Regions from separate parts of the Homo sapiens genome. Here regions 2, 3 and 4 are each linked to region 1. Evidence: promoter capture Hi-C in 16 types of primary human blood cells and fetal thymus (Javierre and others, 2016). All regions are on one chromosome and are shown on one strand. Each heading gives the region's core, a stretch centred on a gene start or on the middle of the fragment in contact. The rest is flanking DNA. Distances are from core to core; before and after follow the strand shown.

Region 1 (3,155 bases), core at 1-2,500:
AAGAAAATAATGCTAATTTTCGACAAATGCAAAAATAAATGTTATTGATCTCTCTTACAAACAGAAAACAAAAAGCACTTCATCTAAATAAACCACTGTGAAAAAAAAAATGGCAACCTGACACCAAAGGGTCGTTTTTAAAACTAAAATGTTCAAATGACAGAACTCAAATAATCTGTCCACAGTAATGCTCGGACAACTCTGAGCAAAATTTCGTATTTAGTCAACTGGTAGGCTCGCTCACTAAAGTAGCAATTACACGCATGAGAAGGAAGGGAATTAAGCGGGCTGAGTGCGGGCTGGGTGATTGTGTTTTGAGACCTGCTCACAGGAAGCCACTACATCCTGCCTTTAGTCCCGCCTGTCACGCCGTCCCTCGATTCAAGTCCCGGCCGCAGCGAGGTGGGGCAAGTACAGGTGTCCCGCCGAGCTCCTCCCGGGGCGCTCACCCGCGAACAGACCGCGCGGTAGCCACTCGGGCCCCAGGGCGGCCCGTTTCCTGCAGCTCAGGGCGCCTTTTTCAACCTCTCCCAGGCTCGCCGAGCCCAGGAAACGAACAGCCCCCTCCCCTCGGGCCAGCCCCACTTCCCAGCCCGCCACCTCCTCGGGCCGCGCCTCCGTATAATTACTGCTCGGCTCCCACCGCGGGGCCACTCCCCAGCGCCCGCAGCCGCGCGAAGGCCTGAGTCTGAGGGCGGCCGGAAGCTCCTCACGCCCCCGGACCGCGCCCCCGGCCGCGCCCCGGACTCCAGCGTCCCCGCGTCCAGGCCGCTCCCCACGACCGAGCCCCTCACGCCGGCGCAGCCCGGGCTCTCCCACCCCAGGCCCATCTCCAGCTCCCACTCCCTCCGGAGAGCAGCAGCCCCGGCCCACGCCGCCCCGTCGAGGCGACGCCGCCCCCCAACACACCCCCTTCCAGCCTCAACCGCGCCCGGCCCAGGCCCCCTCCCGGGCCCGCGATCCCAGCGCAGCTCGGCGCCGCCACCGCCGCGAACCCGCCGCCCCCTCAGCCTCGCGCCCAGCGCCGCCAGGGCGTCCCCTCAGCCCAGCCCCCGCTTACAGATCTTGCCCCGCAGGCTCTGCAACACTCGAACCTCGCGACTGTCCTGGTCCCCGGCCTCGGGCTCTGCAGTCGCACTCGCCGCTGGCGCCTCGGAAGAAGCCGCCGCAGCAGCAGGCGCCGCCGCCGCCATGGTGCCGCCCGGCCCGTGCCGCAGCCCTGCCGCCTGCGTAGCCGGGCGAGGCGGAGCCCAGCAGCGGCCTAGGCCCAGGCCAGCCGCGCGCCTGGCCCCGCCCCCGGGCCTCGGCCCGACTCGCCCCGCCCCGCCCCGCCCGCCGCGGCCCCGCCCCCGCCCCCCCCGGGTCTCCATTCACCGCCTTCGCCACCCCCGAGCCGGGCTACCCTGCAGAGAACCGTACTCCCGGCTTGGGGCGCTGGCTAAGGGTAGCTCCCAGTCGTGGCTCTGAGCGGCCTTAAAATCCCCACCAGGAGAACGCCCCGGCCCTCCCGTGATCCCTAAATCCTCCCGGGAATTGGGCTCCCCCAATGAATAGACCTGCACATCTCCTAACGCTCGCGGGAAATACAGGCCCTTCCCAATCAGGGAAACTCCCTGTGGGAAGAAAATAGAATGGAATTTGGCAGGTGGGTGGACCTCAAAAGTATCTTATTCAAAAGGAGGCAAGAGATGCATTTGAGGCTCTTCCAGTATTATCCAAATACTCCCCGCCAGCAAGCCAAACTCCTCCCACACAAATACTCTTTACTAGGACCAATTCTCTGCAAAACCTGGTTCAAGAAAAGGACCAGCCACCCCCAACTCCAGCGTGAGTGCAGTGCCTGAGACCCTCTCATAGAGAAATTCTGAAGCATTTACCATCACTTTTGTATTTCAGGAACAGAAAAAGCAAAGAAGGGCTCCCCCCCGCCACCGCCACCACTACTAAAAGTTGGCTTTGTTAAAAAGTTGACTGACCCTAGGAAATGTGTAAATCTTTGACTAATTGTTAGCTTTATTTCAAGGGAACTCTTTACAGTGAGTAAACTGCATGAATAATACCCTGGTATGTGATGAGGAAGACAATTTCCTGGTGTTGAGGTTGTTAACTACGCTGCCCTAAGAAGGAAGAAACTGTGACTTAATCGGGCAGGGTAATTCTTTTCCAGGGCAACAACAGGAATAAGCCAGTCAGTCAACAAATATTTTTTGAGGGTCAGACATAGTGATGGCCTCAGACCTCAGAGACTACACAAAGGTCAAGATGAAGAGAGCTCCAGCTCATTCTGGAGGGAGACACAGAAAAGGCCAGAGGCACTGGGAGATAAGAAATAGGACGGGGAAACCTGAAAACTGAAGACAAACGCGCCGCCTGTGCAAAGGCTGGACAGCCCCAGAGAATGGTCAGAGTTTAACATGGACCTGGCCAGCGAAGCTTCCAGTTCTGCCTGTGTTGCAGGTGACTTCTATTTCCCCATGTGATCTTTACACTTGTTGGATAAAGTGAACCACTTCCTCTTATATGAATGTTTTGCTGTCATTTCAAACATAAGTCCAAAACTTAATTTCCTGTCTCCCTTTCCAAATCTGAGTTCACATCTTATACTGTTACTCAGGCCAGAAACTTTGACTTTTTCTTATCCCTTGTCCCAATGCTGTTTTCAGTTGCCACATCCTTCTGACTCTGCTGAAATCTCTTCCTTCCTTTCCATTCTCTGTCATTGCCCTTGTTAAAATTATTCTCATTTAAAGAGTATCAACGTGTTACAGGGTTTTTTCCCCCTTATTTTTAAAGGCATCCCTTTTTAGAATCAGACATAGAGCCTGTTTCTACCCCTTTTACATTTGGGCAAGTTACTCAACCTTCCTAAACCTGTTTCTGTTTCTTCTCTTTCTTTCTTTCTTTTTTTTTTTGACAGTCTTGCTCTGTTGCCTAGGCTGGAGTGCAGTGGCACGATCTCAGCTCACTGCAGCTTCAACTTCCTGGGCTCAAGCTATCCTCCCATGTCAGCCTCCTAAGTAGCTGGGACTACAGGTGCGCGCCACCATGTCCAGTTAATTTTTGTATTTTTGGTAGAGATGGGGTTTTGCCATGTTGCCCAGGCTGGTCTTGAACTTCTGGGCTCAAGTGATCCATCCGCGTCAGCCTCCCAAAGT
Region 2 (3,155 bases), core at 227-2,726, 850 kb before region 1:
GATTTAAGAGAAAACCAGTTATATTGAAATACAGTTAGAATCCGGTAAAGTGCCATTGTCTGGTGGGGGCTCCCTTTCTGGCTTGCAGATGATGCGTCTTCTCATATTCTAACATGATGGAGAGAAAGAGCTCTATTCTCTTTCTATTCATATAAGGACACTAATACCATCATGGATGTTGCACCCTAAAGACCTCATCTAAACTTAATTACCTACCAAAGGCCCCACCTCCTAATATGATCCCATTAGGAGTTAGGATTTTAACAGAAGAATTTTGGGGGAATACAAACATGCAGACCATATAAGTGTTTTGTTGCCTATATTCATAATTGCAGGAAATGCTAAATCTCATTGAGAGGTTAATGAAGATTAAGGTGTAATTTTCCCCATCCAAGTTTATAGGCCCCTTTTCTTATGATACAAAAGGGAAAATAGCACATAAAATTTTTTTGCAACAATTTATTTAGAACACTATTACATATTAACTATAAATATATTTGCACAAAAAGTTTATTCTTACTTTTTTAATAGACTTTAGAAGGGCCTGCCAAATATAATATTAAGCTATTGAAGAGAAATGAAAGTCCAGAAGTCTCAGAAACCCAAAAGGTTGTGACTGGTTATCCAAATGCTATTGATAAGGTAAAAAACTATTTATTCCAATTCTCTTCCCAAACTTTAACACCTGGGAAGATGATTGAGTGAAAATCGAATGACCATTTTTGTACATAAAACTCAGCTTTTTGTGTGTTCTTGTATTATACGTTCATCTTCATGCCCAAAATATTTATTCTTTTAGCCTAACTCTGGAATTGAGAACTTTTTAGCATCTTTGAATATCTCCAAAGAAAATGAAGTACAGTCATCTCATCATGGGGAGCCTCCAAGTGAAGAGCATTTGTCACCACAGTCATTTGCCATGGTTCGTATTTTGTAGGAACTTTCTTACTGTGGTAATTTCTCGACTGTTGACCATGCAGACATATCCCATGCAAGTGTTCAAACACTTCCATCATGGAGGCTGGTATGTTACATCATTATTGTCATCTTGTGAGGAAACCAGGCTGCCCTGGGCAATTTAGCCATACTTTTTCTCTTTAGACCACAGTTCCCCTGCTTTTCAAACATTGCTACTAGGTAACTGGGATGAAAGTTAAGCAGGAGGATAAGTATCGTTTCTGTATCAGAAATGTGGGTGTTGGGTTTTTTTTTTTCAGTTTCTATCTGAATGTAGTTAATGTCTTAATTGTTAACAATGGAATTCTTTCCAAGAAAGATCAATAAGTTCTACAGATGTAATGTTGACTTTGTTCTCTTCACCCTCACCATCTCCATGTGAATCATTTTCAAAAAGAAGGGAACACGGATGCTTAAAGAAATTCTAAAAATTGATGGCTCTAACACTGTGGACCATAAGAATGAAATCAAACAGATTGCTAATGAAATCCCTGTTTCCTCTAACAGAAGAGATGAATATGGATTACCCTCTCAGCCTAAACAAAATAAGAAATTAGGTAAGTAAACTAAATACTATTACCAATAATATCATTTTAAAAATTCAATTCATTTGGTTCTTTTTAATCATGTACTTTTAAAGATAAAACTGCTTTTATTTTAATGTATTTATTTATTTTAGAGATGGTGTCTTGCTGTGTTGGCCAGGCTGGTCTCAAACTTCTGACCTCAAGCAATCCTCTCACTTCAGCCTCCCAAAGTGCTGGGATTACAGGTATATGCCACCACACCTGGCCCAAAACTACTTTTATTCTTAAAACTATAATTTTTATATTTGTTTCAGTTATATAATAATATAACTGGCCAGGTGTGGCTCATGCCTGTAATCTCAGAACTTTGGGAAGCTGAGGCAGGCGGATCTCTTAAGCTCAGGAGTTCAAGACCAGCCTGGGCAACATGGCGGAAACTCTGTCTCTCTAAAAAATACAAAAGTTAGCTAGGTGTGGTGGCGTGTGCCTGTAGTCCCAGCTACTGGGGAGGCTGACGTGGTAGGATTGCTTGAGCCTTGGAGGCAGAGGTTGCAGTGAGCCAAGATCACGCCACTGCACTCTAACCTGGGCAACAGAGATAGACCCTGTCTCAAAAAACAAAAAGAACAATAATAATACAACCATGTAACCAATAGATCTACAGTCACTAAATGTCTTCTTGTGATTACTTAATTGTAGTGTTATAGATAATCATTCTGTAGACATCCAAACCTTTAAAAGTTTGCACATTCTAGCTTTTGTCCTCAGTAATTTAAAAATTATCATGTAACTTAAATACATTATTTAACTTTTCTGAAATCTTGTTTCTTATTTATAAAATAAGAATAATACATTACAGATTACTTGTGGTAATTATATAACATGTATAAATATAAAACAGCACTATGTCCAACACATTGTAGGTGCTAATAATTGATATTAATATTATGTTAAAATAACCTAACTGTTGTAAAAATAGAAAAATCTACAAAATCAATTAAAAATCATTAATAGAGTTAGATATAGGAAAGTGAGTCATACTCTTAAGTCTGTAAAGCCTATAGCATAACATCTGGCACATAACTGGATTTCAGTAAATATCCGCCATATTTGTTCCTACCCTGAATGTCCTCTATACTTTAGCATTTTATCTGTATAATGATCTACTAAAGGCAGCCAGGAAGAATGACTGATACAAAAGTGGATGTGGGCAGAAGTTTCTCAGAGAAGTCAAAAACATTTTGGAATAAGCAGATCTAAGCGTATTAAAGATCAAAACCTGGAATTGGCTGGGCACGTTGGCCCACATCTGTAATGCCAGCACTTTGGGAGGCCAAGGCGGGTGGATCACCTGAGGTCAGGAGTTTGAGACCAGCCTGGCCAACATGGTGAAACCCCCTTTCTACTAAAAATACAAAAAATTAGCCGGGTGTGGTGGCAGGCGCCACCAAGTAGCTGTAATCCCAGCTACTTCAGAGGCTGAATCAGGAGAATCGCTTGAACCCGGGAGGTGGAGGTTGCAGTGAGCCAAGATCACGCCATCACACTCGAGCCTGGGCAACAAGAGCGAAACTCTGTCAAAACAAAAACAAAACCTGGAATAAAAGCAGAACCTAACCCCATTTATATTCCAGTGATAATTAATTAAAAATTCCAAAAAATATTAGGAAC
Region 3 (3,155 bases), core at 476-2,975, 540 kb after region 1:
GATACCGTATTTTTTTGGTCACTATGAAGTGTACTTGGCTGGTTCCTCCTCTTCTCCTCATTCCTCTTCTCTTGATCTCTTTTATTGAAGTCCCCAGAGGGTAGGTAGCTCGTGGTCCCTTCTTCTCTATATTCACTCCCTTAGTGATCTCAACTAGGCTCATGGCACCACTTATGTTCCAATGACTACTAAATATATATCCCTAGTCCAATCCTCTTTCCTGGACTCCAGGCTAGTAATCCAATCACTTAAACAATCAGCTTCTTGACCTCTCTACTTCTCAAACTTACCATGTCTAAAATGGAGCTTCTGATCTCCCCTCACCCCAACTCTGTTCCATCTGCAATCTTGCCCATCTCAGTTGACAGCAATTCCACCCTTCCAGGTGCCCAAACTAAAAACCCTGGAGTTATTCTTCGCTCTTCTTCTACACTCTGCATTCAATATGTCAAAAATCTTATTATCTTTACCTTCGAAGTCTAACTAGAATTCAACCACTTCTCACAATGTCCATTGCTTCCAACCTAGTCTGAATCACCATTATCAGTCAAGTGGATTATTGAAATAGCCTGATCAACTCCCTACTTCTGCCCCTGTCCCACGCATAGTCTAGCAGAGACCAATTAGCCTTTAAAAATTCTATGACTCCTCCCATTTCAATAGAAAAGGTCAAAGTCCTTTAAAGGCTTAAGAAGGCTCTATCATTCTGGCCATACCTGCTTCATTATCTCACTCTTACCAGGGCTAGGGTCTTACTGGGGCTAGTTCCTTTTGTATAGCTAATTCTCTCCCTTCCAAGTCTTTACTCAAATGTCATCTCAGTAAGATTCATCATCATTCGATTTAGTACTAGAGTGCACTCCTACCACAGTCCTTTAAGGTGCACCATTTTTTTTCCCACAGCACTTAATGCCTTCTAGTTAATGATAACAATTACTAGACAAGACAGTCCCTTGTCTTGCTGTCCGGTTGTCGATATTCTTCAATACTATATTACAACCAGACAAGTGGTAGGTTCTTAAAGGTTAGCTGAAATGTAGAATCTGAACTATACCAGTAAACTTTTCATACTGTTATATTAAAATCCACTGGTCTATTTTAAAATCTGAATGACTTTTTTACCCATGGCTGACTCCATGAAAAAAAGAAGCTAGTGTAGCCTGCAATTGAAACAACGCAGAACCACACTTCGGCATACAGTTACTTCATGTCTATTTCCCATTTTGTCACACAAAATATTAAATATAGAGGTATTCAAAGGTTGTGATTTAATAAAATTAGTATTTTTACTCCTTCATGAGCATTCTTAGGTTAAACTGGCTTTTTTTTTTTTTTTTAATTGCAAGTACCTGGAGGTGAATACGATGACTACAGTCTGGTGCCACTGCCTTCATGCATGCTAAGGCATCAGCAGTTTTACCCATCATTGCTTTTGCACCATCAGGACAAATGTCAACAAATTTGTGCCAATAATGTATTTTTATGAAAATAGTTTTAAACTCTCAGACCACAACAAGGGTCTCAAGAAGGAGAATCCCTGACCCACAATGTTGTGCTACACTAATCCATTTGCAGAAAAATGGTAGCTGCTGTGCTACAGTAATTCATTTATAGAAAAATGATTTGAGAATATTCTCCAACAGGATAAGAAACTTCCCTTAGTTTTGCAGTCTATTAGTAAGAAGAACGGAATGCATTTTTAGAAGGAAAAAAAGGGAAGGAGGATGTCTGAATGTTTGTCTCCCCCAAAACTAGTAAGATGAAATCCTACTCACATCCCAAGGTGATAGTATTAGGAGGTAGACGCTTTCAAGGTGATTAGGTCATGAGATTGTAGCCCTGACATTTGGGATTAGTACCTTTATAAGACACCAGAGATCTTGGCTAGCCTCTCCTACTACGTGAGGATACAGCAAGAGAGTATCTTCTATGAGGAAGTAGACCATCATCAAAAAACCTGTTACTGCTTTAATTTTGAACTTCCCAGCCTTCAGGACTGTTAGAAATATTTGTTATTTATAAGCCACCAGTTTTTGGTATTTTGTAATAGCAGCTTAAACAGAGCAAGACAGAGGAAAAGGAGAGGTAGTAAAAATTAAGGAAATGAGACTAATAAAAATATGGTCAGAGTGAAGCGGAAATAAATCACATTAATTATACTTTTAAGTATTCTACTTCTGCCCTGATCTTCAAGCAAACAGGTGAAATAATTTAACAAATATCGTTCATTATACCCAAATGGGAATTTCCTACTGAATAAATAATAATGATTGAGCAAATGAATGAGCTCCAGGATATAAAAATAGACAGTTCTTAGATCATCTTTGATTTTACTCACTACATATATTAAATTATCTGTCATAAGAGCTGCAAAGAAAATACTTCATCCACTTAAAATCTTAAGGTATATAGCTCCTATTTGAGACAATATCTCCCTCAAATAGAAAAAAAATGAGCTGCCTCTGTAGATATATGCAGCTGATACAATAACTAGACAATGTACAATTCTATCAGTCTTTAAAAATACATTTAATAGTGCTTTCATCTCTATATACATACATTAGAGGTACAGCTAAAATTAAATCACATTTACACCTTTTTTACAGGCTGTCATGATATCGTTCCTTAACTCAATTAACCTAACTACTGACCTTACAAACTCTGAATATTAACTCTGGCAAAAGCATAATGGGATCAAAGGGTGTCTTAAAGAAAGCACGAGTTATGCATGTGAGTATTTCACCCAGAACCAAGGTCCAGTGCTGGTGTTTAACAATACAGCTACTAGGCTATTAGAAATGTGGGATTCCGATAAACATATTTGAATATTACAATTCTACTTATCAGAAAAACAACTTAAAGGCTCCATATTCGGAAAACCCTTGCCTAAGATTAAATACTCTGTGAAAGGTTACTCTTGGTTCTTTTAAAATATACTGGGCTTCCTTTAAAAAGATAAGGTGTGTTTTACTGAACTCACTTATGTAACCACATATAAAAATAAAATCAAGATGAGATGCAAAGGAAGAGAAATTATACGGCTGAGCACCTATCTTGTATCAAATCCTACATACCATATCTCATTTAATACTCTAACTACATATGCTAGACTGGGGGGGAGGGGATGGAGCTCCTAATCTGTGTGTTTAGATGCT
Region 4 (3,155 bases), core at 1-2,500, 540 kb before region 1:
CTTACGTCTGACACAGTCTCAAGTTTCCACTGAATGGTAACAAAGACTGTAGAATGTTGTTGGTACTGCAGTGAGAGGCATGCTTCCTTAGACCAGGTAAGAGAGATCAGTTTGTTTCTCACTGCTGGGTGAGTTTTTACAGCTCTTATTTTATATTCTTTAAGCAGCAGCAATATTAAATTGATAAATAGCCAGGAGCACGCTGATTTCAAGACGTCCTTGCTTGTTGCAGACAGAAAAACTACAGGGTTATGTATGGGGGTTGGGGTGGGGGGGGAGGGGAAGAATTAGTTTATTACTCAGTTACTTATATAAATTAATTAAAATGTGAAAATAATTCTGGAGCTCAGTTTTCTTAATTCAGGAACTAAAGCAGCAGTTGAGGAAATCAGTAATTTTAAAGGTACTTCATGGTTATTACTTGTGAAAGCAATTCAAAGGATAGTTTTTACTTTCATTTTTTTCCCCAGTAGTTAATAAAATAAGCTTTGCCCTTAACTAAACATTTTTTCCACTTACGAAAACTTTTAAATTGCCAACAGCAAAATATACTTCCCAAGGATCCTTGGAAATCAACCTGACACTTGAAAAATATTTCAGCTTTTATAGCTGTTTCATTCCTTTTTTTCCCTAGTACATTTTTCTTAAAAGTATTTGTGCTTTGAAAATGTCAGCTGTATTCTAATGAAGCTTAGGCATTGTTTGCTCATAAAGGGGCCGGTGCATTCCACTGCTTTATGGTTTATTATGAGGCACAGTGTGAGAGTGTGGGTGGCACCATTTGGTGTCTGCCTCTTGGGGTAGTGACTGCCATTATGTTAGCCTTGGACTGGCAAAGAAAATATAGCATACAAGATGCTATATGAATCTGGATACTGTGAAGAAAATCTTACCCCTAAACAATTCTTAATGACCCCGGAATATATGACAACTTGATTGAATTGATCATTTCAATTATACCCTTGAAGTTTGCATTTTAGTTACAACGTATATTCTATTAGACACGTCTTATTTTTTGATATATAATAGCATTTAGTCATTCTTTGAAGTTCAATAAGGAAGTGAATGTTTCTAAACTATGATGTTTTTAATAGATACAGTGAAATTTTAAATAATACATTTACTTAAAAAAGTTTTAAGGAACTTAGTGTGGGTGGGGAGCGGGAGTGGGAGAGGGAGAGGGAGAGGGAGAGGAGGTCAGGCAGAGAGTCTTTCTTCTTTCAGTTAGGAAAGCCCTGGTGAAGAAAAAAAGCAACAGATGTTTCTTCTGTTACAATTGAGGTTGTTTCATTCAAAACTCAGAGTAGCTGGAATGGAGAGAGGAGGTCATAAATCTGATTTAATCAGTGAATAAATAAAATTTAGTCATTTAAAATTTATTATTTTATATTCAGGAATTGAAAGTCATAGAGTAACAAAATGAGTAACATACCCAATATTTAAAAAAAAACTTTAAATATTGCCTGTAGCCTGTATAATTAATGAAAATGTGAGAAAATTAATTCTGTTGAACTTCACTTAAGGAAAAAATTGATAATTAAATCATATAGACCATTTTTTTAAAGCCTAAGCCATCTAAAATATAGAGGAAACAGTTGCAAAAGTTTATCACTAGACAGTAGGTACAAAATCTCAAAATGAAAATAAAATGAGAAACATCAGTTACATATGTTGATAGATGATTTCATCTTCTGTGAGAAGCTGAGGCTTATTCCTAAGACCTTTGCATAAGAAATATGGGAGTAATATTTTGGGTTTAATTGAAATGATATGTTGCAGTTTGCCTCTAAAAAGAAAGATAATAAGCTTGGATTGGTTGCTAATGGAAAGAGGAGAATGTTTATCTGCTGAAAAGAGTAGGAATGAAGAGTGTGGAAGCATTATGCGTGTAATGAAAGCAGTCAAAATTTTGAAAAACAGTTTTTGAATTTTTGGAATTCATAATGAGGAAAGTGAAAACCTTTCCTTTTACAAGTAACACAAAGAAGTCCTATGCTGTTGTATAATGTGCGTGTATACACATTACAACTTTATTCATTTCTTAAGTTTGCTCTTGAAAAATCAGTGCTGAGCACCAGCTCTTTCACATATGAGGCACTTATTCAATATTTGCCATACCCTACACTGGAAAATTCGTAGTAATTTACAGTAGCCAATAAAGTTTTTGAGCTATAGTTTAAAATTTGCATATGGATTAATTATTATACAGTTTTCTAAATAATTGGCCTAAGGAGAGAGAAGGCTGGAAAAGATATCAACATTCAAGCAGATTATTAAAAATTCCTCTTGCTGTTAGCTAAGATCTGTGGGCTTACCTGAAGTTATTTTTTTGTTGTTTTTTTTTGTTGTTTTTTTGTTTTTTTGAGACGGAATCTCGCTGCAAGCTCTGCGTCCCAGGTTCACACCATTCACCTGCCTCAGCCTCCCCAGTAGCTGGGACTACAGGCGTCCACCACCACGCTCAGCTAATTTTTTGTATTTTTAGTAGAGATGGGGTTTCATCATGTTAGCCAGGATGGTCTCAATCTCCTGACCTCGTGATCTGCCCACCTCGGCCTGATGGTCTCGATCTCCCGACCTTGAGATCCGCCTACCTCGGCCTCCCAGAGTGCTGGGATTATGGGCGTGAGCCACTGCGCCGGCCAGAAGATTTTCTTTTCTTCAAATAATGATGACCAAATTTAGAGATTTTGAAGTTTGTTTGTTTTTTGAGATGGAGTTTCGCTCTTGTTGCCCAGGCTGGAGTGCAATGGTGTGATCTCGGCTCACTGCAACCTCTGCCTCCTGGGTTCAAGCGATTCTCCTTCCTCAGCCCCCCAAGTAGCTGGGATTACAGGCATGCGCCCACACGCCTGGCCTTTGAAGTTTATTGAATCATTATTTCAATTAAGATTCAGATTCTAAAACTTATCTATGTACATTTTGCTTATCTTAAGGAATAGCAACATGTAATGGTTGAGGTTTTTTCTCTCTAAAATAAGTAAAACAATTTACATGGACTTTAAAATGGATTTACAAACTATAGATTTGCCTAAAGAACTTTTTTTACAATTCTGATCAAAGAACAGAAATTTTGATGGAATAGACAGGCTTAAAAAAAAGTTGGTCACTCCACATGTAATACATAACTGTGACAGCATCATAGATTGTGATTA

The links. The method cuts DNA at HindIII sites, captures the fragments that hold promoters and counts their contacts. A CHiCAGO score of 5 or more calls a contact.
Region 2: a fragment that was not itself captured here is called in contact with the fragment with the promoter of RASA2 in region 1 in 1 of 17 cell types (neutrophils); the score reaches 6.1 in neutrophils.
Region 3: a fragment that was not itself captured here is called in contact with the fragment with the promoter of RASA2 in region 1 in 1 of 17 cell types (neutrophils); the score reaches 5.5 in neutrophils.
Region 4: a fragment that was not itself captured here is called in contact with the fragment with the promoter of RASA2 in region 1 in 1 of 17 cell types (fetal thymus); the score reaches 6.1 in fetal thymus.

What each region holds. Positions count from the first base shown.
Region 1 is chr3:141,485,122-141,488,276 of GRCh38, reverse strand. RASA2 (RAS p21 protein activator 2) reads right to left here and starts at 1,250. Exons shown (of 24, transcript NM_006506.5): 1 at 1,061-1,250. The coding sequence starts at 1,193. RefSeq lists a silencer at 462-1,341. The HindIII fragment of the contact is 5,296 bases long and covers 1-2,435 here.
Region 2 is chr3:142,330,734-142,333,888 of GRCh38, reverse strand. XRN1 (5'-3' exoribonuclease 1) reads left to right here. Exons shown (of 41, transcript NM_001282857.2): 35 at 800-922; 36 at 1,355-1,514. Among named protein-coding and RNA genes, the nearest start is that of GK5, 110 kb to the right of the region's middle. The HindIII fragment of the contact is 6,055 bases long and covers 1-3,155 here.
Region 3 is chr3:140,943,922-140,947,076 of GRCh38, reverse strand. All of the region lies in intron 1 of SLC25A36 (solute carrier family 25 member 36), which reads right to left. Among named protein-coding and RNA genes, the nearest start is that of SLC25A36, 3.7 kb to the right of the region's middle. The HindIII fragment of the contact is 4,988 bases long and covers 1-3,155 here.
Region 4 is chr3:142,025,520-142,028,674 of GRCh38, reverse strand. All of the region lies in intron 3 of TFDP2 (transcription factor Dp-2), which reads left to right. Among named protein-coding and RNA genes, the nearest start is that of TFDP2, 120 kb to the left of the region's middle. RefSeq lists an enhancer at 1-299 and a silencer at 686-735. The HindIII fragment of the contact is 1,116 bases long and covers 693-1,808 here.